Linked DNA regions of Homo sapiens: all the other regions are linked to region 1. The links are contacts of gene promoters, found by promoter capture Hi-C in blood cells and fetal thymus (Javierre and others, 2016). All regions are on one chromosome and are shown on one strand. Each heading gives the region's core, a stretch centred on a gene start or on the middle of the fragment in contact. The rest is flanking DNA. Distances are from core to core; before and after follow the strand shown. Region 1 holds the start of NOS2 (nitric oxide synthase 2). Region 2 overlaps NLK (nemo like kinase). Region 3 overlaps LOC105371710 (a long non-coding RNA gene). Region 4 has its middle 44 kb from the start of TMEM97. Region 5 has its middle 10 kb from the start of TMEM97. Region 6 overlaps NLK (nemo like kinase). Region 7 has its middle 26 kb from the start of TMEM97.

What was found. The method cuts DNA at HindIII sites, captures the fragments that hold promoters and counts their contacts. A CHiCAGO score of 5 or more calls a contact.
Region 2: a fragment that was not itself captured here is called in contact with the fragment with the promoter of NOS2 in region 1 in 2 of 17 cell types (endothelial precursors and megakaryocytes); the score reaches 5.9 in endothelial precursors.
Region 3: a fragment that was not itself captured here is called in contact with the fragment with the promoter of NOS2 in region 1 in 2 of 17 cell types (M0 macrophages and endothelial precursors); the score reaches 5.6 in M0 macrophages.
Region 4: a fragment that was not itself captured here is called in contact with the fragment with the promoter of NOS2 in region 1 in 9 of 17 cell types (erythroblasts, M0 macrophages, megakaryocytes and 6 more); the score reaches 13.2 in erythroblasts.
Region 5: a contact is called between a fragment that was not itself captured here and the fragment with the promoter of NOS2 in region 1, in 6 of 17 cell types (erythroblasts, M0 macrophages, endothelial precursors and 3 more). The highest score is 8.8, in erythroblasts.
Region 6: a fragment that was not itself captured here is called in contact with the fragment with the promoter of NOS2 in region 1 in 1 of 17 cell types (total CD8 T cells); the score reaches 6.5 in total CD8 T cells.
Region 7: a fragment that was not itself captured here is called in contact with the fragment with the promoter of NOS2 in region 1 in 6 of 17 cell types (erythroblasts, endothelial precursors, M2 macrophages and 3 more); the score reaches 9.2 in erythroblasts.

Annotation. Positions count from the first base shown.
Region 1 is chr17:27,798,266-27,801,832 of GRCh38, forward strand. It overlaps NOS2 (nitric oxide synthase 2), which reads right to left and starts at 2,264. Exons shown (of 27, transcript NM_000625.4): 1 at 2,074-2,264; 2 at 435-617. The coding sequence starts at 544. RefSeq lists promoters at 2,097-3,567, 2,177-3,294, 2,177-2,469, 2,228-3,567, an enhancer at 2,438-2,466 and a cis regulatory region at 2,779-2,801. The HindIII fragment of the contact is 2,695 bases long and covers 196-2,890 here.
Region 2 is chr17:28,183,483-28,186,875 of GRCh38, forward strand. NLK (nemo like kinase) reads left to right here. Exons shown (of 11, transcript NM_016231.5): 8 at 1,697-1,783. Among named protein-coding and RNA genes, the nearest start is that of TMEM97, 130 kb to the right of the region's middle. The HindIII fragment of the contact is 1,465 bases long and covers 980-2,444 here.
Region 3 is chr17:28,223,166-28,226,710 of GRCh38, forward strand. The region is part of intron 1 of LOC105371710 (a long non-coding RNA gene); the gene reads right to left. It also overlaps the pseudogene PYY2. Among named protein-coding and RNA genes, the nearest start is that of TMEM97, 94 kb to the right of the region's middle. RefSeq lists an enhancer at 3,007-3,545. The HindIII fragment of the contact is 7,934 bases long and covers 1-3,545 here.
Region 4 is chr17:28,272,970-28,276,492 of GRCh38, forward strand. It overlaps the pseudogene KRT18P55. Among named protein-coding and RNA genes, the nearest start is that of TMEM97, 44 kb to the right of the region's middle. The HindIII fragment of the contact is 177 bases long and covers 2,174-2,350 here.
Region 5 is chr17:28,307,406-28,310,835 of GRCh38, forward strand. No RefSeq gene overlaps it. Among named protein-coding and RNA genes, the nearest start is that of TMEM97, 10 kb to the right of the region's middle. The HindIII fragment of the contact is 3,560 bases long and covers 184-3,430 here.
Region 6 is chr17:28,159,726-28,163,197 of GRCh38, forward strand. NLK (nemo like kinase) reads left to right here. Exons shown (of 11, transcript NM_016231.5): 4 at 1,435-1,541. Among named protein-coding and RNA genes, the nearest start is that of NLK, 120 kb to the left of the region's middle. The HindIII fragment of the contact is 390 bases long and covers 1,317-1,706 here.
Region 7 is chr17:28,291,263-28,294,528 of GRCh38, forward strand. It overlaps the pseudogene KRT18P55. Among named protein-coding and RNA genes, the nearest start is that of TMEM97, 26 kb to the right of the region's middle. The HindIII fragment of the contact is 3,020 bases long and covers 1-2,866 here.

The DNA.
Region 1 (3,567 bases), core at 1,014-3,513:
ACTAGTTTGTCTAACATCCTGATGCCCTTCACCAGGATGATATTCAAAGCATCTAGCAAGCGGTGAATTGGAATGGACGCAGGCCAGGATGCTGACCCTCCACCCCCACCCCTCCGCCATGGTGCCCACCACGAGGCTCTACTGCCTCCCATTCTCAGGCCAAGCTCCTTCCCATATTCTTCCCCAAAGATTCCAAGCTTCTTCAGGGCCAGCCCCGCACCATGTCCCTTCCTTCTTCACATACCGTCAGGCACAGCGAGGTGCCCAATAATCAGCGGCTGCATTGAATTCCAACAGGGACTTTCAAGAAGCAATGAGGAGATCAGACCTCAGGTGAGAGAGGAGGAGCAGAGAGAGGAATTCTGAGTCATCGGTGCCGACAGGGCATGGGTGCCCAAGGAGACAAGCAGGAGGTTCCCCCAGGGAAAACTCACCTGGAGGTGGCACAGGGGGCTTTCTCCACATTGTTGTTGATGTCTTTTTCCCCATTCATTGCATACTGGTGGAATTTGGTCTTGAACAGAAATTTCCAAGGACAGGCCATCTCTATGGCTTTACAAAGCAGGTCACTTATGTCACTTATCTGGATTTGAGCTCAGATGTTCTTCACTGTGGGGCTGAAGAAGGGAAGCAGAGGTGAGGGAAGGTTGAAGAAGAGTTTACAGAACAGGGCTTCTCAGTGGGGTTGGCTCACTGGGGAATCGATATGAACGCCAGCATGAGCCCCTTCATCAATGCTTTGCAACCTCTGTCTCTATTTCGGGGTTGGAATGGGGAGCCTTCGGACACAGACTTCAATTCTGTAAAGCCACCTAATAATCTTAAGGAAAAACAATGAACCCCCCCATCCCCATCGCCACTTAACAAGGACAAACTGTATGCACCATGAGCCTCCTTAGCGGGACCTGCTGGCCCACCAGACCCAGCCAGGCTTCATCACTGGCCACAGGCAGGGTGAGGAAGAGCCCGGAGGTCGTTGAAACAGGGGTGCCTTTGCCTGACCCTGAAAGACACTTCCCAGCAGCTCTCATTATCAACTGTAGTTTTAGGTCTATTACTGGGGAAAGCACTCAAGCTGTAGCTACCTTTCTTTTAAAGATTTTGCAGTTGTTGTTCTAACTCAGCATTATTACTTGCTCCTCTTTTATTATGTGGGGAGGAAATATTTGTGAAAAATGCACTCATCCCTCGAAATCTGAGATCATCTCCTTTGAAACAGACAAGAGGAAGATCAAAGAGGCAAAAACTCTGTCTTTAGAAGACAGTGTAGTGAATATAGTCCATGTAAGAATTTTAGGCCAAGTGCAGTGGCTCACGCCTGTAATCCCAGCATTTCGGGAGACCGAGGCAGGAGGATCGCTTGAGTCCAAGAGTTCGAGTTCAGCCTGGGCAACATAGGGAGACCTTGACTACAAAAAATTGAAAAATTAGCCAGGCAGGCATGGTGTCTTGTGCCTGTAGTCCCAGCTACTCGGGAGGCTGAGGCAGAAGGATTGCTTGAGGCTGGGCAGTCAAGGCTGTTTCCAAAAAAAAAAAAGAAAGAAAGGGAAGGGAAGGGAGGGGAAGGGAGGAAAGGACAGGAAGGAAAGGAAGGAAAGAGGGAAAGAAAGAAAAGAACTTATAGCCCCATAGACCTGGGTTCAAATCCTGGAATCCTAGCTCTACCAGTTATGTGTCCTGGATCAAGTTATTTAACTGAAACTCATTTATTCATCCATAAAATGGGTTTAATATATCCATCTTACCAGGATTTGTGGGGAGGTTACATGTTATAAGGACTGATAAGATAATCTCTGTTAAAAAAAATTCTTAGCAGATACAAACTCCCATTTTGAACTTTTCAGAAAGTTTTTCCTTGTCATGTAACAACCACAGCTAATATTTGCAGAAAAGAAATCTGACCAAGATGCCATGTTCAAATGACCAAACCTCATGTCGGCATTTTTTTACCTAGACTTTCCAACACCTTCTCTCTGTAGGCAGAAAATTCCCACAATTTTCTGAGCCTTCTCAAAGAGGAAGAAACAAAACCCTCTCAAAACAGCCGCTTCCCCAGAAATGAAGGCAACTCACCTTGCAGCTGGCTGCACTGCCTCCCCGGGGTAAGGACAGTCAAACCAGGAAGAGACCTGTGCCTTGAGAACTTCGGGACTGTCTAGAACTGCCCAGTCCCCTCATCAAAGGTGGCCGAGAGATTTTAAAGCAGGAATGAGGCTGAGTTCTCTGCGGCCGGAGCCTCAGTTTTCGACTCGCTACAAAGTTATGAACACACTGGCAGCCAAGAAGTATTTATACTCACCCCATGCCATCCAGAGAGTTGTTTTTGCATAAAGGTCTCTTTTTTTTTTTTTTTTTTTTGGTTTCCAAAGGGAGTGTCCCCAGCTTGTGTACAGTTAGCTAATTTATGACTGTGACTGCCAGGGCCTGTGGGTGACCTGATCTTGCTGTTACATCACTCTGTGTGGTGCCTCTTCACCCAACCCACCTCTTTCTGGTCCCAAGTCCAAGGTGGCAGTTCATCAGCAGGGTGGCTGCTAAGATAGAGGCACCACGGAGCCAGGTTTTATTTGGCCAAGCCACATGGCCTCACTTTCAGCATCTGGGAGATTTTTTCCTCAGCAGGGAGCTCTCTGGTTAATCCCTGTCCATCCTCTCACTTTTCCAGCTTGTGACAGGAGTCCAGGAAGCTGGGGGAATATTGACAGTATGGAACACACTGGAAAATGCCCAGGTTCCAGAAGGCCAGTGATATTAGATGATGCCATTATTCCAGACAGGCCTCTGAACTAGTCACTTGAGGTTTTTGGAAGGGAAAGGAAGGAAGGCTATTGGCACAGAGAGGCCTCTGAGATGTTGGTCTTACTAACACCTCATCCTTTAGCACTAGGTAAGCTTTGGTGGAATGGCAGGTAGGATTAAATTCCTTCCCTTATAATGGAAATGATCACTTCTTACATGAAAAAGTGGTAATTTCTTATAATTTCATTTCATTTATTTTATTTATTTATTTATTTTTGAGATGGAGTCTCATTCTGTCACCAAGACTGGAGCGGAGTGGCACGATCTCTGCTCATTGCAACTTCTGCCTCCCAGGCTCAAGCGATCCTCCCACCTCAGCCTCCTGAGTAGCTGGGACTACAGGCATGCACCACCACACCCAGCTAATATTTTTGTGTTTTTGGTAGAGACTGGGTTTCACCATGTTGTCCATGCTGGTCTCGAACTCTGAAGCTCAAGTGATCTGCCCACTTCAGCCTCTCAAAGTGCTAGGATTACAAGGGTTAGCCACCATGCCCGGCCTATAATTTCATTCCTTATAATGCCTGAAATACAGTATTCCCATACATATGCATTTTTCCATCATAAAAGTAAAATAACAACTACATTAGGGAGAAGTTGAGAAGCAAAGGGAAAAAAAGTCACCCTTGATCTCACCGTCCCAACACTTTGCTACCACTGTCCACTCATTTCCTTCTTGTCTTTCCCAAGTTAAATTCAGCATAATATATTAACTTTGTCAAAGATAAACTAAGAGCCACAAAAAAGACATGGATATCAGAGCTCAAG
Region 2 (3,393 bases), core at 462-2,961, 380 kb after region 1:
CATGCCGGGCTAATTTTTAAGTTTTTTGTAGCAATGGCATCTCACAATGTTTCCCAGGCTGGTCTCAAACTCACAGGCTCAAGCAGTCCTTCTGCCTCGGCCTCCCAAAGTGCTGGGATTACAAACGTAAGCCACCGCACCCAGCCTTAGCCTGTGACTTTATTGTTATTTGAGTTGATTCTCATATGCTTTGACCTACCAAACTTTCTGACCACAGAAAGGTTATAAGTAGACGGCAGGTCTAAAACCCATTAGGAAAATCATTTACCCCACTAAGAGATTAGTTTTTTGTTTTTTTTTAAGTGGTATGAAAGTCAAGCCGATAATAATTTGGCCATAAGTCTAGAACTTTCAAAGCTTGAGGAAAAAATTCTCTGCTAAAGGTTGTATTAAGCATGGGAAGAAAAGGAGTCTCTAAACATTTTTTGTCACCTTCCTTAATTCTGCCTTTTTTATGTTAGAGATAAATAATTTACTTGTGTGAGAGACAGAGCAATGATGCCATTTACCTGCTCTGTCCCCTGACGCTTCTAGCAGTGAAATGGAAGCTTTATAAGCTCTATGGCTTCTCAGGTCATTAAAGCCACCTCCCTGCTTCACAGAAGTCAGATATGGCCATGTGGATATGCCTACCACTTATGAAGGCAATTCTTGAGTGAGAAATCAATGCTAAAGGCCATTCAGATTGAACCATCAAAACCAATGGTGTACTTTCTTACAGGTTCTGTAAGTTCTTGCATGTCCTTTGGCTCCTTTAGGACTAATATCTCAGCACCTTTATGGTAATGTCATAAGACATAGTTCACATTCTTATAGTTTACATGCTTTGCATGTGGCCCAGGTTTTAAAACCTTTCAATCTTTTCTCTCCCACCCCTAGGCATGTTTGATTATCATTCTTGCCAAAGCATTTAAGATGTAAGGCTAACTAAAACCCATTTTTGGCCATGCTCTGATCCCACATTGTTTCTATAAACTCAAGCTTCTGTACCTCATTGGGGGTTTGGGGCTTTATTTGGAAGCCTCCCGTGTACGCACGATAAATAAATGTGTATGCCTTTTCTCCTCTTTAAAAAAAAAGATGGCTAGCAGGAGTGCCATATTTGCAATTCGTTTTCATTTTTTTATAGACTCTTTTGTGCTTTCCCCTACAGTGGGTAATCATGCAATGTAAAAATCTACGGGGATGGACGTGGTGGCTCACGCCTGTAATCCCAGCACTTTGGGAGGCCGAGGCAGGCAGATCACTTGAGGTCAGGGGTTCGAGACCAGCCTGGCCAACATGGCAAAACCCCTTCTCTACTAAAAATACAAAATTACCCAAGCGTGATGGCACATGCCTGTAATCCCAGCTACTCGGGAGGATGACCACAGAAGAATCACTTGAACCTGGAAGGCGGAGGTTGCAGTGAACCAAGATGGCGCCACTGCACCCTAGCCTGGGTGAGAGAGCGAGAATCCATATCAAAAAATAAAAATAAAAATAAGTAAATAAATAAATAAATAAAAATGCTACGGGAAGTTAGTAACAATTGTTGCTTTTGAAGACTGGTTACTGAAGGGAAAACTCATTCTCCTTGAGTTTAGACACACATTGCCTTTTGAACTGAGTACTTACCTTATCATAAATTGGCTGTATTCCATAGCTGTTTACACAAAGACTCACTTAAATATTTGAATTTTTAATTTTTTCACAGCCATCTCTTCCTGTACTCTATACCCTGTCTAGCCAGGCTACACATGAAGCTGTTCATCTCCTTTGCAGGATGTTGGTCTTTGATCCAGTAAGTAGTGTTTTTTTTTATATATTTTTAATGAATTACAAATACATGTGTTCGAGAGAAACATTGTGGTTTTGAATAGATTGGCAATGTAAATAATTACTTTTCAGAATATAAACTTCAATCCCCAGTATCATGTGTATCATGCACGCTCATCACACAGAAGTTTGATTATTAACACATAAGAGTCTAAGGGAAGAGATAAGGAGCTGGATCTTATTTAACTCTTATTTCTTATTTATCTCATTATTTGTAAAAGGAGTTTGACACCAAGTTAAGTCAAGACAAAATGATTTTTTGTTTTGAGACAAGGTCTTGCTCTGTCACCCAGGCTGGAGTGCAGAGGTGTGATCTCAGCTCACTGTACCCTCAACCTCCCAGGCCCAAGCAATCCTCCTACCCGAGCCCCCTGAGTATCTGGGACTACAAGCATGCTCAGCTAATTTCTAAATATTTTGTAGAGAAGAGGTCTCACTATATTGCCCAGGCTGGTTTGAACTCCTGGAGTCAAGTGATCCTTTTGCCTCAGCCCCGCAAAGTGCTGGGATTACAGATGTGAGCCACCGCGCCCGGCCAGGACACAAAGTTTTTTAAGGTTATTTGAAAAAAAAATCTGACCATTATATTGCATAAGGAAATGTTTGCTCTGTGTTGTTGAGATGGAAGCTTTTCCCAATACCCTTTCTGGACTTGACTCTTCTGGAACATACTACAAATTATACTGTAAGTTCAGCTCTTCATTTATTCATTCATCCAAAGAATATTTATTATTCACATCTATGCCAATAACTATTGTCAAAGAAGACTTAAAAATGGAAGCATTTAGTAAAGAAAATTTAACTTGCCAAGAATACAAAGTCACCAAATACGAAAAATACCAGATATTTAAAAGATAAAACAACCACAAAATTACCAAAGTTATTAAGTTTACATTGGTCCATTTGTAGTGAGAAAGCTGCAACTTTCTCAGAAGATATCAAATTCACAAAGCTTCAGACATCAGCACAGCAAAGATTAGGGATAAAAATAATTCTGTTAAGGAGTTCAGGTTTGTGAGAAACAGTCAAGGTTTTTTTATTTGGGGGACCAGAACCAATTAGGGTGACCCAAATTATTTTTGTAATGTCTCAGGGTACAATTTAGATTGCTTATGTGTTTATTTTGGTGTTTTTTGCTGTTGTTTTCTTTTTTGTTTTTTTACTGTGGTGTATTAGTCTGTTTTTACACTGCTGATAAAGACATACCCAAGACTGGGCAATTTACAAAAGAAAGAGGTTTAATTGGACTTAAACCTTAAAGTTCCACATGGCTGGGGAAGCCTCACAATCATGGCGGGAGGTGAGGAGGAGCAAGTCATGTCTATATGGATGGCAGCAGGCAAAGAGAGAGAGCTTGTGCAGGGAAACACCCCTTTTTAATCTGGTCAGATCTCATGAGACTTATTCACTATCACGAGAACAGCACAGGAAAGACCTGCCCCCATCATTCAGTTACCTCCTAGGTCCCTCCCGTAGCATGTGGGAATTCAAGATGAGATTTGGGTGGGGACACAGCCAAACCATACCATGTGGTATGTGAAGTGCTTAGTGATACTATAAGCCTGACAAAGTGGC
Region 3 (3,545 bases), core at 297-2,796, 420 kb after region 1:
CAACCTCCCTGCCTGATTCTCCTGCCTCAGCCTGCCGAGTGCCTGCGATTGCAGGCACGCGCCGCCACGCCTGACTGGTTTTGGTGGAGACGGGGTTTCGCTGTGTTGGCCGGGCCGGTCTCCAGCCCCTAACCGCGAGTGATCCGCCAACCTCGGCCTCCCGAGGTGCCGGGATTGCAGACGGAGTCTCGTTCACTCAGTGCTCAATGGTGCCCAGGCTGGAGTGCAGTGGCGTGATCTCGGCTCACTACAACCTACACCTCCCAGCCGCCTGCCTTGGCCTCCCAAAGTGCCGAGATTGCAGCCTCTGCCCGGCCGCCACCCCGTCTGGGAAGTGAGGAGTGTCTCTGCCTGGCCGCCCATCGTCTGGGATGTGAGGAGCCCCTCTGCCTGGCTGCCCAGTCTGGAAAGTGAGGAGCATCTCCGCCCGGCCGCCATCCCATCTAGGAAGTGAGGAGCGCCTCTTCCCAGCCGCCGTCACATCTAGGAAGTGAGGAGCGTCTCTGCCCCGCCGCCCATTGTCTGAGATGTGGGGAGCGCCTCTGCCCCGCCGCCCCATCTGGGATGTGAGGAGCGCCTCTGCCCGGCCGAGACCCCGTCTGGGAGGTGACGAGCGTCTCTGCCCGGCCGCCCCGTCTGAGAAGTGAGGAGACCCTCTGCCTGGCAACCACCCCGTCTGAGAAGTGAGGAGCCCCTCCGCCCGGCAGCTGCCCCGTCTGAGAAGTGAGGAGCCTCTCCGCCCGGCAGCCACCCCATCTGGGAAGTGAGGAGCGTCTCCGCCCAGCAGCCACCCCGTCCGGGAGGGAGGTGGGGGGGGGTCAGCCCCCCGCCCGGCCAGCCGCCCCGTCTGGGAGGTGAGGGGCGCCTCTGCCCGGCCGCCCCTACTGGGAAGTGAGGAGCCCCTCTGCCCGGCCAGCCGCCCCGTCCGGGAGGGAGGTGGGGGGGTCAGCCCCCCGCCCGGCCAGCCGCCCTGTCCGGGAGGGAGGTGGGGGGGTCAGCCCTCCGCCCGGCCAGCCGCCCCGTCTGGGAGGTGAGGGGCGCCTCTGCCCGGCTGCCCCTACTGGGAAGTGAGGAGCCCCTCTGCCCGGCCAGCCGCCCCATCCGGGAGGGAGGTGGGGGGGTCCGCCCCCCGCCCGGCCAGCCGCCCCTTCCGGGAGGGAGGTGGGGGGGTCGGCCCCCCGCCTGGCCAGCCGCCCCGCCCGGGAGGGAGGTGGGGGTGTCGGCCCCCCGCCCGGCCAGCCGCTCCGTCCAGGAGGGAGGTGGGGGGGTCAGCCCCCCGCCCGGCCAGCCGCCCCGTCCGGGAGGGAGTTGGGGGCGGTCAGCCCCCCTGCCCGGCCAGCCGCCCCGTCCGGGAGGTGAGGGGCGCCTCTGCCCGGCCGCCCCTACTGGGAAGTGAGGAGCCCCTCTGCCCGGCCAGCCGCCCCATCCGGGAGGGAGGTGGGGGCGTCAGCCCCCCGCCCGGCCAGCCGCCCCGTCCGGGAGGGAGGTGGGGGGGTCAGCCCCCCTGCCCGGCCAGCCGCCCCATCCGGGAGGTGAGGGGCGCCTCTGCCCGGCCGCCCCTACTGGGAAGTGAGGAGCCCCTCTGCCCGGCCACCACCCCGTCTGGGAGGTGTGCCCAACAGCTCATTGAGAACGGGCCAGGATGACAATGGCGGCTTTGTGGAATGGAAAGGCGGGAAAGGTGGGGAAAAGATTGAGAAATCGGATGGTTGCCCTGTCTGTGTAGAAAGAAGTAGACATGGGAGACTTTTCATTTTGTTCTGCACTAAGAAAAATTCCTCTGCCTTGGGATCCTGTTGATCTGTGACCTTACCCCCAACCCTGTGCTCTCTGAAACATGTGCTGTGTCCACTCAGGGTTAAAAGGATTAAGGGTGGTGCAAGATGTGCTTTGTTAAACAGATGCTTGAAGGCAGCATGCTCGTTAAGAGTCATCACCACTCCCTAATCTCAAGTAATCAGGGACACAAACACTGCGGAAGGCCGCAGGGTCCTCTGCCTAGGAAAACCAGAGACCTTTGTTCACTTGTTTATCTGCTGACCTTCCCTCCACTATTGTCCCATGACCCTGCCAAATCCCCCTCTGTGAGAAACACCCAAGAATTATCAATAAAAAAATAAATTTAAAAAAAAAAAAAAAAAAGAGTGACTGAGAGAGCCCTGAACTCTCCCTCTCAGGAGAGCTCTAAAAATAGCACCCACAGCCATCTGTCCTGGGGCTGGAGGGGCTGGCTCAGAACCAGCGGCCTGGACAAGTTGGCCCCTTCAGCCCCCATGGGTTGATGGGACATCTGGAAGTACTGGAGGTCTGGCCAGGCCAGGGAGAGGAAGCTGGAAGGGCTTTATGGAGAGACCTTCCCACAGCCCTCTCTCCTACTGGGCAGGTGGGTTTGAGGGGGTTGGCATTCTGGAGGCCCTTCCCCTACTCAGCCTCTCATAGTGGGTGGTGGGCCCCAGACTTAGGCTTCCGGTCCCTGCTCCCAGGCCTGCCTCCGGCACCACATGGCTACTCCAGGTGCTGAGGCTTTCTGCCCCTCACAATTGAGAGGTCCTCTTCCTGGGGTCTGCCTCACCCTCCTTTTCCTGTTTGAATCATGGGTGACTTTGGCTGCTTCATCAGGGCTTCAATTTCCTCATCTGGAAAATGGAGATAAACTCAGCTCATTGTTTTGTGATGTCCGAAATTATGTACTACCCGGTGCACAGTAGGTGCTTAATAAACATGAGTCCTTTCCTTCAAAGGATCTGGGCTTCAGAGCCCAGTGGAGACTGCCATGGGCTGGGGACAGTGGCATGTGCTTGGGAAGGCTTGGCATCACTCAGGCCCAGAAGACACCAGTGCCCTGATTGACACCTGCATAGGGGTGGGGACATTGCCTGGGGAGAGGGCTCTATGCCACACATGGCTGGACCAGGGTCTTTGTGTGCCAGGCTGGATACACAGGTAGCTGACTCAGCTGCTTCTGGTTGGGGGACTGGCTTCTGCCTCCTCCTGCCTCTTTTCCCAACTCTTTAATGGAGAGAGAACATAACGGAGTGTTCAGAGAGGCCTCTCCCCCAGGATATCATAAACTGCAGGCCAGGAGCCCAAGGTCAGGTGCTCCCACCCCTGCCTCCAGGAGAAAGACTTTCCCCCAGAGGTCCTGTCACTCCTCAGCCCTTCTCCAAGGTATTACTGAGCAGAGGCTGAAAAGAGTTGTGTTTTGGAAAGAGTGGTCACAGATCCCACAGGCTGGAAGAAATGTGTCTACCCTCCCACCCCCCACTCCCACCATGGACTGGCTAGGGAAGACAGAATCTCATTCCTGGTCCTAGGGGCTGCCCCAGGAGTCTAATCCAACCACTTCACTTCCTCAGGAGGCTGGACCTGCCCCTGCGGGGCTGTGGGCTGAACACAGGGTTCAGGCTAGGTACCCCATCCAGTGGGACCCCAAATCTGAGCATGGCAGCTGCCCCCTGAGCTCCTATGAGGTGGAGACGTCACACAGTGGCTGAGCGTAAGCTCAAGGATCTGGTGCGGGTGGAAGGAGGAAGAAGGGCGCACCC
Region 4 (3,523 bases), core at 1,012-3,511, 470 kb after region 1:
CCTCATGCCTCCCTGAAATATATAAAACCAAGCTGTACCCCAACCACCTTGGGCACTGTAAGGCTCTTGTGTTGGTTTGAACCCTGAGAGCACACCAACAAACATGCAGCTAATGCTCAGTGCATCAAAAGATGCTAGTGTTTGAAAGACTCAGAGACTTCTCTCAGGAATTTGCCAAGCACTTACAGAACTCCATTTATATACAAATCTTTCTTACCCTGCCATCTCAAAAGGTATGGCTGATGGTCCATTATCTCTCAGAAAAATGTATTATAGCTCCAGATGGTAGAATGACCAGGAAGAAATTTCATCTTGCAAGTCAGTGTTTATTAAGAACCCACTGTATGCCCAGCATCACACCAGGCTGGCAAGAAACAAAATAATCCTGAGTGATCATCCTTCACAGAAAAAAGACTTGAATCATAATTGTAACAATCTAAAATCCAAACATCATCTTTTAGTGTGTCTTATAGTTCATTAAATTTTTGAATTGTTAAACACTGTGACTTGGCCAGGCGTGGTGGCTCATGCCTGTAATCCCAGTACTTTGGGAGGGCGAGGCGAGCAGATCACCTGAGGTCAGAAGCTTGAGACCAGCCTTGCCAACATGGGGAAATGCTGTCTCTACTAAAAATACAAAAATTATCCGGGCCTGGTGGCAGGCACCTGTAATCCCAGCTACTAGGGAGGCTGAGGCAGGAGAATCACTTGAACCAAGGAGGCAGAGGTTGCAGTGAGCTGAGATCGCACCATTGCACTCCAGCCTGGGTGACAGAGCGAGACTCTGTCTCAAAAAACAAAAACAAACAAACAAAAAACCACTGTGACTTGATTTTTTACTCTGGAGAAGCAAAAACTACATAGGCACATTTTGAAACACTTGGGGAAATGTATTGCAAAGCAAGGATGAAGCACTGAGGATTAAACATCTGCAAAGTGGGAAATGATGTGAATTCTAACAACAGGCTTAGAAAGTTAACATCTCTGGAAAATAAACCTCTAAAAAAAAACACACAAAAAGCCAAAGCACACTACACTTGGTGGAATATATTATGCATGACACAGAAAAGGCCAATATGTTCTACAGCCACGTTCAGGAAATGGTCTGGTTAAGACTAAAAGACGGGGACAATGGGTTCTGAGAAATCAAATGTGGAAACCAACACACTTTCGGACACACTCAGGCAAGCAGTCCATCTAACCCTAAATATCTATTAACAAATTCCTTCAAATCGCTGCTCAGACTAGGGACAAAAACATTTTAATGCACCTGACACCGGAACCACACACAAACTCGGCACAATGGCAACTGCGCAGGCAGCTTTGAAATGCTGCCTTCTCTACAAATGGCCTAAATTCTAACCATCTGTCTCTATCTGATCAGAAAAACGTTTCCACCATGTGAATTTCCACCTTTCTGTCTCAGACCAGTCCAACCAGGTTATTTTCACTTCTGCCTATTCCCCTTCAATTTAACTGCTTCTTCTTCAGGTTTTTGTGTTAGAAAAAGAGATTCTTCTGTCTAGGTCTAGTCTCTGTGGCAATGCACAAAGTCCCTGTCATTTAGGGTTGGTTTCCTCCTCATCAATCTTTTTCAGATACCCCCTAAAAAAGATGACGCTCAGAGATCTGAACTCCAGCCCCCACAATCTGTCAAGTGCAGGCCGACCCCCACCGCAAGCCTGGCTTATGTTAGCAGTGAAGGTTCGAGACAGAAGCTCTTCTCGCTGTCTCTCCTGCTGCTCCCTTGCATAGCACTGGTGCTGGAAGTTTCTGAGAGCAGTCTGCAGTTGATAGACATCATACTTTAACTGCTCAACCTGACTGGAATTGATGGAAAGAGAGATTAAATTTAACTCAGGGCAGCAGAGTCTGAGGGGGCCAGATTTTGTACTGACAAAAGACAGCATTTCCTTACTTCTCCCTACACCACCCCCCCACTATCCCCCACCCACCATGAAATCTGATTTTGATCAGTGATGTTGAAAGTAAAGAAGTAGCCTGTGGTTAAGGTGAGATGGTAGCGCATGAGATTCTGGCAGCTTGACTTCAGAATCTGCTGCTCTCTGATTCTGAATGCATGACAGGGAACAGGGGACAGGAAGCAGGTTCACTGACCTCTTCATTCTCCTGGAGGAAGCCCAAGGGCATCTTTGAGGTAAAGCATCCACGAAGCTTCATAAAACTTTCGGAAACAGGCGCTGGGGGTGGAGGTGGCAAGGGCGGTTTCATTTTAATTTCATGGTGGAGTATCAAACATTAGATCAGTATTTCATTATAGATGGACTGATTGAAGTGATTTTTCTTTTCAATCCAAGAAGAACCCAGCAGCAACCAAAGAGCAGAACAAAGCTTCATGGCAGCATTAGGCTGCAGGTGGCCATGGGTCTTGTCAGAGAAACAGAACTGGAGGCAAAATTTCAAAACGACACAAAGAGGTATGGGGTCACAAGTCTTCTAAGCCACAAACCTCACAGGCTATTTATTTTGAGACGGCATCATCCAGATAGAATTGCACCCGTTGGGGGGAATTTTTCTTTGCATATAGTCTTAGTTTTTCAACAGAAAATTCAGAATATTCTATCACCTCCCCGCTGGGAGAAAAGGCTCTCTTAATGGGCCTGGGGTATCAGAGCCATGTCAGAGGTCAGCACTCAGTTTGGCATTCTGCCTTTTGTTAGGGGGCTTCTTGCTGGACAAAATCTCCAGACTTCCAGACAGCTGAATATCTTGCCGGTCTATGCTTGCTTGGATTTTGTTTTCTACTACTGCACAAAAGAGAAAAAAGAATAATTGCTGGAAAAGAGACAGTGAACTTAAATTACAATGATAAATCAAAGATTGTTTTCAATATCCAATAAACTAGAAAATACACATTTCAAAAGAAGAAAAATGTATATACTAATAAATAGAAAATTCAAGTTATGCTATAAATGTTGTTTTGAAAAAAGTACATATATATAGCTGTTAATGCCATAACAATGCCAATATTTTTTCTTTTTTTTTCTTTTTTTTTAACCTCTGAACTTTTTATTGGCCTCCTGCTCCCCAAAGGGTCCCCTGCTTCTGCTGGCTTAAGGTATCAGAACTTTGGCATCACTGGTCTCAGACACCACTTTGCCATCCAATATCCGGCAGGTGGTAGTCTTTTGGATGGTTTGCATGGAGTTGCTGCTGTCCAGGGCATCACCAAGATTGAAAGATTGAAGTCCTCACTGTCTTCCAGCAGGCGGTGGTAGGTGGCGATCTCAGCCTCCAGCTTGACCTTGATGTTCAGCAGGGCCTCATACTCCTGGGCCTAGTGCTGTCCCTCTGCCCGGGTCTGTGCCAGCTCTGACTCCAAGTGCAGCAGGATCCTGTTGAGCTGCTCCGTCCGCAGGGTGTAACAGGCCTCCACCTCCCTCAGGCTGTTCTCCAAGCTGGCCTTCAGATTGCTCATGGAGTCCAGGTCGATCTCCAAGGACTGGACTGTATGTCTCAGCTCCGTGAGCGTCATCTCAGCAGCTCCAACCTCGGCAGACTG
Region 5 (3,430 bases), core at 714-3,213, 510 kb after region 1:
CGAACGACGACCGGTAGAACAGTTAGCGGCCATCGGGCGGTTGGTCTTAGTGCTACTAGACCTTGCTGCTGGAAGAGAGAAATAGTAGAATGACAGGCCATGTTTGGCCCGTTGGAAATGCCCACCACCCTTTGGGAAGATTTACTGGCCGTTTATAGAAGGCCTGTGTATATAATATGAAAAAGCTTCTCTCAACTCCACCCCAACCTTTTAATAGAAAATATTTGCCATATTTAGCCCTTCTATAGATGGAAAAAGCCACGCTGTTTTACTTTTATAAGCAATATTGCATTAAATTTTTAATAATGAAGAAAATCCTTCCTGGGTCGAGTGGGGACTTAGAGAACTTTTCTGTCTTACAAGAGGTTTGTAAAATGCACTCCCAGGCTTTTCAAGAAATTAAAAACAATCTCTTGACAGTTTCCAAAGCAACTATTCATCAAGATGATCTGCCTAGAGAGATAAACATACCCATATAATACTGTATTTGATCATAAGCAAGTTGTCACTGCAACTAAAATAAGTAAAAACAGTTTCAACAAATGATAGTTGCAGACAACTAAGAAGTTCTCTCTAATCATAGTTTTCACAGATCTCCCTGCTTCATTAGGAAGGAATAGCTCATAATTTGGTTCTAAATCAAAATGTCAATTTTCTGGTTCCCTTCTTGCAATACAGTATAGGGCATGAGGATTTGTGAGTCCCACAATGACCTAAGTCAAAAGACTAAAGACTTCAGTCTTTTGGTCTAGCCTAAATGAATTCAGTGTGTGGAATGATACGATAACCGGAATATTAACAAAAAGTTACTTTGCTTTCTCAAGGTAAAATTAAAATTCTAATTGAGGAATTGCACATGTACCCCAGAACTTAAAGTATAATAAAAAAAAAAAGGAAAAAAACTGGACTTCCCTGGGGAAAAATCCATTTGATGATGTGGCTTCATCGAGTATTCCTTTGTGAATTCCTGGATGAAATTTTCAAGGCAAACAGGAAAAGCACTGAAATTGCTGAATGGGTGAGCATTGTATGCCTGATTCATTAAATATATGCATTGGTAAATATATAAAAAAATTCTAATTGAATAAATAAAATTCAGTGATGGGGAACTCTAGCATGTAATTTGCCACATTGTATCATAAATGTTAAGTTTCTCTCACTAGACTCTGAAGTCCTCGAGGACAAGAACTAAGTCTTGTTTATCCTTTACAAACCTAATACTTAATATGGCAGCCAAACACTAGGGAACAATTAGGTGCTAACATTAAGTGGCAATGATGAACAAGTTCTAGAACAAGATGGTGGTGGTGATGGTCATACAATATTGTTAATGTACTTAATGCCACTAAACTATATACTTTTGCTTTAAGAGAAGGGGGTCTCGCTATGTTGCCCAGGCTGTCTTCAAACTCCTGGGCTCAAGGATCCCAGGCTCAGCCTCCTGACTAGCCGGAACTACGGGCTCCACTACACGTGGCTTGAATTATATACTTTAAAACAGTTAAAGTGATAAATTTTATTACGTGTATTTTACCACATAAAAATAATAAAAATAAAATTGTATGGCAAAGTCTATCCAAATGAAGAAAGGGGGAAAAAAGGAGAAAAATGGAATAGCAAGGGACAGGAGTATGTTTTCCAAAGACCAAAAAAAAATAAAAATTAAAAATAAAAAAATAAAAAAGGACTTATGAGTAGTTATTTCAGGAATAAGAAAAAGCACTCATCAACAAATGATTTTTAAAAAATTTAAAATAGCTATTAATCCTGAAAGTCTGTCTTAAATTAACCTCAATATTTTGTCCAATGATTTTTTTTAAATAACACCTGCTTCTTGGCATTTTAATTTCTACTACATTTAAAATTTTAAGTTAATTTAAAGGTGTTAATTGCAAAGTACTTCTAAATTACTAAATAATAAATATTCAAATACTGAGATTAGCTCAAACCTTATTATATTATAGAACACCAATGTACAGCCGAATATCAATTCTTTCACTCTACAGGTCTATACAATTTAATGATAAAAGAATAGACGAGGCACAGTGGCTCACGCCTGTAATTCTAGCACTTTGGGAGGCCGAAGTGGGAGCATTCATTGCTGGAGGCCAGGAAGTTGGACTTCAGCTTGGGCAACATAGCGAGACCTTGTCTCTACAAAAAAATTAGCTGGGTGTGGTGGCATGTGCCTGTATTCCTAGTCCTATAGTCCTAGCTACTCGGGAGGCTGAGGCTCCTGCCTCACTTCAGCCCAGGGGTTCAAGACTGCAGTGAGCTGATGAAGCCACTGCACTCAGGCCTAGGTGGCAAACCAAGAGTCTGTCAAAAAAAAAAATCCATCCTAAAAACAATAATTGTGTACTACTTTTTAAAAAGTAATTAAACCTTTAGTTTGTTTAGAGACAGAGTCTCTCTCTGCTACCCAGGCTGGAGTGCAGTGGGGCCATCATAGCTTACTGTAACCTTGAACTCCTGGGCTCAAGCAATCCTTCCACCTCAGCTAGGACAACAGGAATGTACCACCATGCCTGGATATGTTCTTGATTTTTTTTTTTTTTTTTTTTTGAGATGGAGTCTTGCTCCATCACCCAGGCTGGAGTGCAGTGGCGCGATCTCGGCTCACTGCATCCTCCACCAACTGGGTTCAAGCAACTCTCCTGCCTCAGCCTCCTGAGTAACTGGGATCACAGGCATGCGCCACCACAGCCAACTACTTTTTTTTCTTTTCTCTTTTTTTTTTTTTTTTTTTTTGGCCAGGCTTGTCTCAAACTCTTGATCTCAGGTGATCCGCCCACCTCAGCCTCACAGAGTGCTGGGATTACAGGCCTGAGCCACCGCACCCGACCTGTTTTTGATTTTTGTAGAGCGGTCTCACTCTGTTGCCCAGATGGTCTCAAACTCCTGGGCTCAAGTGATCCTCCTGCCTCTGCCTCTCAAAATTCTGGGATTACAGATATAAGCCATCAAGTCTGGCCTAGAATATTTAACTTAGGACAACTACGTGATGGTTTTTAAACAAAAAGAGAACTGCCCCCAAATGTATCACTATCAAAGATGATATAAAGCACAAACAGATTATTAGAGAACTACCAAGTAATTCTACAAAAAAGAAAATGGGCATCTTCTAGGAAAAACCATTTCAGCTCATCCCTACTGCATGAAAAATCACACAAGTTTTTCCAAACAGATAATGAGTCATTAGCAAAATCTTCTTTTAATCTTAGGCTTAAAGTTATTTTAGAAAACCCTTCTGTAGATTACAAACTACTGTCAGCAAATGCCAGGTTCCAAATAAGACACTTAACAAACTTCTAAATTTGTTAGCTAATTAACTTTTCAAATCATTCTGGATCTGTCAGATGCAATACAAATCAGGATTAATAATATAGTTTTAGAGTTTTAGTCCAAAAAAAGACCCACACATCTATGA
Region 6 (3,472 bases), core at 262-2,761, 360 kb after region 1:
CTATATAATAAAGTAAATGTCAGTATATAGGCAAAATAAAAAATATAACAGTAAAAAAAATTATCCTGGCTGCTGTTTTAGAAATCTAGCAGTCTTGGGCCAGAGTAGTAACAGTGGATATAAGAAGTGGCCTTAATTCTGACTAAATTTTGAAGGATTTCTGATGAATTGGAGGTATGGTGAAAGAGAAACGGGGAGTAAAGGATAACTCCTTGATGTGGTTTGTGGTGCAAGCAACTAAGAAAGATTTGGACAGTTTTGGACTTGTTAGTTTGAAATGTCAATTAGGTATCCAGGGGAAATAGGTAGGCAGTTTGATATACCAGTCTGCACTTAAGGAAAGATTAACTAGAGAGAGAAATTTGGCAGTCTGCAGCATGGATGTTATTTAAAGGCATGGCACTGGATCCGAGTATCCACGAGTGTGGATAGGGAAGAGGAGTGAGGACCAGCAGCCATGGGGCATTTCAACGTACAATGATTGAAGGAGACTAAAGCGATTTGGAAAAAATGTCTCGAGGAGGAGGGAGTTTGAAAACAATTGAAAAACAATTTTTAGTTGTTTTGTCAAAGGCTGTTATTATCAGTTCTCCTCCCTGTTCCCAAGTTATCCCCTTTCCTACTTGTTTTTGCTAAAACATTAAATTAGAAATTGCCTTAAGAAAACTTAATACTTAAATTATAAGATTTACCATACTTTTGCTTCCCTAATGTATCTAACACGTGCTTCACAAGAGTCTTGAATTGCATATCTCCATGGCTCCCCAGGCTCCAGCCTTTAATCATCGGCCATGTGTCCATTCAGCAAAACCCTAAACATACAACAGAGTACAACGTATAGGAAGCTCGCTCGAAATCTAGTGGTGATGGTGGGGAGGGGTGTTTCATAAATATATACAAAGTTAAATAATAAAGGAACTAAATTACTAAGATTGTGGAGAGACTTAACTAATTATTTTACATGTGTTTAGGAATACCATATTTTATAATGTAACAAGCCACAGCCCTTGGATAGGTTGTGATCTTTTCCATTGGTGTCATGGTGGCCTAAGATGAGATCACCAATCCCCATTTGTTTGGATTCAAAGGACATTCCTGTAATATGTCTAAGTAGAGCTTAAGACTGTTTGGTCGTCATACTTTTCCTGGCCTGGCTGTTATTTAAAATGTTTACCTTTGGTTTTCTCTTTGATAATGCTGATTATAAGGAAATCATTTGGTCGTTTACTTCTGCTGACTTTTAAACATGTAAGTTCTTTTGATTTTAGTAGTGTTTTGTGAGGGCTGGAATTCTCACCTCTGTCACGCTGTCTAGAAGCTTTCTTTCCCCACTTTTCCAGCCTTGAGAATGGAAGTTATTTTTTAGATCTGGTCACCACTTTGAGGGGGTAGGGGACTGAATTCGCCGAACTCTCCTTAACTTAAAACTTCAAGATATGTTGTCACAGAATTGATGCAGAGTGACCTACATAAAATTATCGTCTCTCCTCAACCACTCAGCTCAGATCATGTCAAAGTTTTTCTTTATCAGATTTTGCGAGGTAAGATTTCTTTATGAAGAAAAAGGTGCTGTCACACTGTAAATGAAATGTTTTGCTTCTCATTTAGACTTTAATCCGATCTTCCAAGGTTTTCTTCTTCTCTAAAGACTTTTTTCTTTTGACCAAAGCATATTTTATAATTTCTATATTTAATGTTAAAGAGGAAGCTTTTTAGGGTTGCCAAATAGTTCTTGTTTTCAGTGATGAAAGAGAAAGCCCTGTCAAATTCATTAGGCAGTTGAGTGGGCTAATCTAGGTGAATAAGCAGGATGGTTTGTCACAAGTTCACAAAACAGCCTTTAGTTTTCAACGGAATAGGAATATGTGGCATCAGACGACTAAAGTGAAAAGTGACTATATCCCCTATGGATGACGTCCATCCTGCAAGCCAACAGTAGGTGGGCCTGTCTGAGTATTGGCTGGCATACCTGAAGCCAACTCCAGAGAAACAAAATGACCCTTAAAACCAAAGTAGATTGGGAAGACCAATAAACAGAGCCAGCTAAATTCTAGACAGCTCATTAAAGAGCACAGACTTGACTGAGAAAGGATTTGGGCCAACATTATTGACACTTCTTCTGGCCATCAAGTATGTCCATGAGAATTTTGCCATTACAAGTAGAGAATTGCTTAAACCTGAAACAGCTTTCTTACCTAGTAAGCAAAATACTTTCCCCCTGCCCCAGAATTCATAGAATTAAGAGATTCTTTATAGAGATTGAAAAATAAATGCCAAAAGGATGAAAACACATAAGCAATTTTTTTTTCAGACAGAGTCTTGCTCTGTCGCCTAGGCTAGAGTGCAGTGGTGCGATCTCAGCTCACTGCAAGATTCGCCTCCCAGGTTCACGCCATTCTCCTGCCTCAGCCTCCCAAGTAGCTGGGACTACAGGTGCCCGCCACCACGCCCAGCTAATTTTTTGTATTTTTAGTAGAGGCAGGGTTTCACCGTATTAGCCAGGATGATCTTGATCTCCCGACCTTGTGATCCTCCTGCCTCGGCCTCCCAAAGTGCTGGGATTACAGGCGTGAGCCACTGCGCCCAGCCACATAAGCAATATTAAAACTAAAAAACTCACCTCCAGGCCAGGCATGGTGATTCATGCCTGTAATCCCAGCGCTTTGGGATGCTGAGGCGGGCAGATCATCTGAGGTCAGGAATTCAAGACCAGCCTGGCCAACATGGCAAAACTCCATCTCTACTTTAAAAAAATACAAAACTTAGCTGGGCATGGTGGCACTCGCCTGTAGTCTCAGCTACTTGGGAGGCTGAGGCAGGAGAATCGAGTGAACCCAGGAGGTGGAGGCTGCAGGGAGCCAAGATCGCGTCACTGCACTCCATCCTGGGCAACAGAGTGAGACTCCGTCTCAAAAAAAACAAAAACGTTCACCTCTAAGATTTGTTCATATTCTATGGTAGGGGAAAATGGGGAAGATATTGGCTCTTTTTGTACTTGTGAAAAATGTGATTTGCTACATTTTATCCAAAAAAGACTCAGCCCATTAGCCGGATATGGTGGTACATGCCCGTAGTTCCCACTTCTCAGGAGGCTGAGATGGGAGCATGGCTTGAGCCAGGAAGGTCGAGGCTTCAGTGAGCTGTGATCATACCACCACACTCCTGCCTAGGTTACAGAGCGAGACCCTGTCTCAAAAAAAAAAAAGAAAAGAAAAAAAGAAAAACGCACACAAAAAGGACTCAACCTTGAGGCTGGGACCTTTAGCAGTACTGAATGAAGACACTGGTCTTCTAAGATTTCACAAATATTTTTAAAGTGGTTCATTACCCTCTTGATTCTGAGCGGTAAAGAATACTACTGACAGTGTGGGCAAGTTCCTGAATTTTGTTCTATCAGTGAAACATCTGTCCTGGGAAAGGCTCCCTGTAGTAATGGAAACTGTTTTGTTGGAGCAGGCTCCGAGTTGCAGGT
Region 7 (3,266 bases), core at 107-2,606, 490 kb after region 1:
GATGACTAGTGAGCTCAGAATTAGTGAAACCAACACCAAAATTAGGAATTTAGGGGTCCTAAAACACATATAACATTAAAAGCACAGATCCTGAAGTCCAACATCTATCACATACAAAGCATATTAACTAGTACTGTTGTTAGACTTGGAAGACCTAAGGATGGATTATCTCTAATTCAGTTAAAATAACTATGTACTATACAATAGGTATTAATAATAAGCATTTATATGGCACTTTTACAGTTTGTATAATGTGAGTTCACTTACTTTGTCTTCATAACTACTCTTTAAGAAGATGGGTAGAGATTTTAATTTCCATTTATTGCTGAGGAAAATAATTCAGTGGTGGTACCTTGTCCCTTTACTTATAGGAATTGGTAGTGCCAAACTCAAACCCAGATCTCATATTTCCAAATATTAGCACTCTGCTTTTATATCCTGCACCAAGTACTTTTATGCAAAAATTAATGAGACTTCCTACTCACAAGGAGGTTGAAACGATTTTTCAATTAAATATTCAGACCAATCACATACTTAATTCTAAGCATGAAAGGAGTACACAGAAGTAGAAAACATCCTTGGCTTTAAGGAAACTTCAAAGGTCTACAGCAGTTTAAACAAATAAGGCTTGGGAGACTGGAAAATAAACCTGAAGGTCAGGAACCATCTTATCTACTCTCTCCTTGTCATACAGTATTTACAGCTGGTATAACTAGAATGTAGTGTTAGGTCAGTAAATATTTGTTGGTTGTCTAAATGTACTGATCGAAACTTCTAGACAGGGTGAGATATGAAATAATATCAGATCCCACTTATTTTTCCCAGGGGCTAAACTTTTGTCTGTGACCAAAGACTCAGCCAAATCATCAAACAGTTCTTAGACAATGTAAGTCTACACCTACTGGGCTACACCTACTGACTAAATGTATTTCACAGAAAAATAAAAATGTTGAACTACATTTCATTTCAAAACTGCCAAAAGGTTATAAAACAATTTCCAGAACTGAATCTAGTCCAACTGCTACAAAATACAACTATCATTCACTCTTGCTTTACTCTGAATTAAACACATCTTCTGCTTCTACAATAAATAATTGTTCATAATATTTCTCATCAGTTGTGCTTTCTTTGTGTTGTTTCCTTCAGATATCTTGTCAACATATATTTTCTGCAGGTCTTTTATTTTTTAATACTAACAATCACTTATCTGCCACATATGATAATTTTTTTAAAACTTCTGAAATATTTTAGCAAATACTAAGGGAGAACAAAACATGAATATGAAAATAGAAGTACAAAAATAAACTCAGTTTACAAAGTTCAATTTGTATCCTGCCACAGATAACTTCACTTCAGAGTCTGCACGCCCTATTCTCCCATCTATCCAGTGACAAGATATTGGCATTGGAGCCTCAAGGACTGCAACTTTTGTTGGCAAAAGCCTTGCATGGGTCAAGATAATTTTTAAGCCTTTGATAAAGAAAGCCCAAAGAGACCAGGCTTAAAATTTTAGTGGATGGTTGCGTGTTAGATATGTTAGAGTCCTAAACTCAAATAAAAAGGCAAGTTGACAATAAACTAGTCAATGCAAAGAGCTTACAAAAGCATAAGCCCAGAAATTACATGCAATGCCTAGTCTATAAAATACCAAGAAGGCGGCTGGGTGCGGTGGCTCAAGCCTGCAATCCCAGCACTTTGGGAGGCCAAGATGGGCGGATCACGAGGTCAGGAGTTCGGGACCAGCCTGGCCAACATAGTGAAACTCCATCTCTACTAAAAATACAAAAATTAGCCGGATGTGTTAGCACGCCACCTATAGTCCTGGCTACTTGGGAGGCAGAGGTGGGAGAATCGCTTGAACCTGGGAGGCGGAGGCTGCAGTGAGCCGAGATCGCGTCATTGCACTCCAGTCTGGGTGACAGAGTGAGACTCCATCTCAAACAAAACAAACAAAAACAAAAACAAAAAAAACAAGAAGGCATGACTGTTTACACCAGAGTGACAGGGCTTTCTTGAGTGGTTATTTATAGCAAAGGTTTAGTACAGTTAAAGAAATCTGTCATAACTTGTTTCAATATGCCATAAATGTGGATATATTCTAGGTAAAATTATGTGGGTGCTACAGAAGGAGATACGTGAGAGAAACCAGCACAATGCCTGCACACTGTTGAATCTGACACTAGGAAATAAACAGCCAGTTATGAAACAAACTCAATTCTTAATGTTGGAAACAGAATAAGGCTCCATTCTTTTTGGAGAATAAAGACACTAACCATTTAAAACAGATGGACTTCACACCAACATGTGAATATACTTAACATACAGAACTGTACACTTAAAAATGGTTAAGATGGTAAATTTTATGCTATATGTTTTGGAAAGGGGGAATTCTTTTTTTTTTTTAAGCAGAGACAGGGTCTCGCTCTGTCACCCAGGCTGGAGTGCAATGGCCCAATCATAGCTCACTGCATCCCTCAACTCCTGGGCTCAAGTGATCCTCCCACCTCAACCTCCCTAGTAGCTGGGACTTCATGTGTGTGCCACCAAGCCCAGCCAATTTAATTTTTTTTGTAGAGATGGGGTCTTGCTATATTGCCCAGGCTGGTCTCAACTCCTGGCCTCAAGTAATCCTTCTGTCTCAGCTTCCCAAAGTGCTGGGATTACAGGTGCTAGCCACTGCACCTGGCTATGTTACGTATTTTTTAACAATTAAAAAGAAAAAAAAACTTCAAATGAGCTTTAAATTTCCCTTGTATTTTTAAATGAATAGATTTATGTGTTATTGAGTACTTACTATATATACCTGTTACCATGGAGATGGAGGTAAAATATAGAGAAAACCTATTCCTCTTTTCAAGAAGGTCAAAGCTTAAAGAGAACCAAAATTCTAAACTGTTCTTCTTTTTTATTTCCTTTTTTTTGAGACAGGGTCTCACTCTGTCACGCAGGCTGGAGCCCAGTGGTGCAATAATGGCTCACGGCAGCTTCGACCTTCCGGGCTCAAGCAATCCTCCCACCTCAAGCCTCCTGAGTAACTCGGACCACGGGCATGCACCACCATGCCCAACTAATTTTGGGGGGGGGCATAAGAGAAGACAGAGATGGGGTCTCACTATGTTGCCTAGGCTGGTCTCACTGAGCTCAGGTGATCCTCCTGCCTCAGCCTCCCAAAGTGCTGAGATTACAGGCATGAGCCACAGCACCCTGCCTAAAATCTCCTTAAAAACAAAAATTGATAATAATTTTGGATCACTCAAAGTAGATGA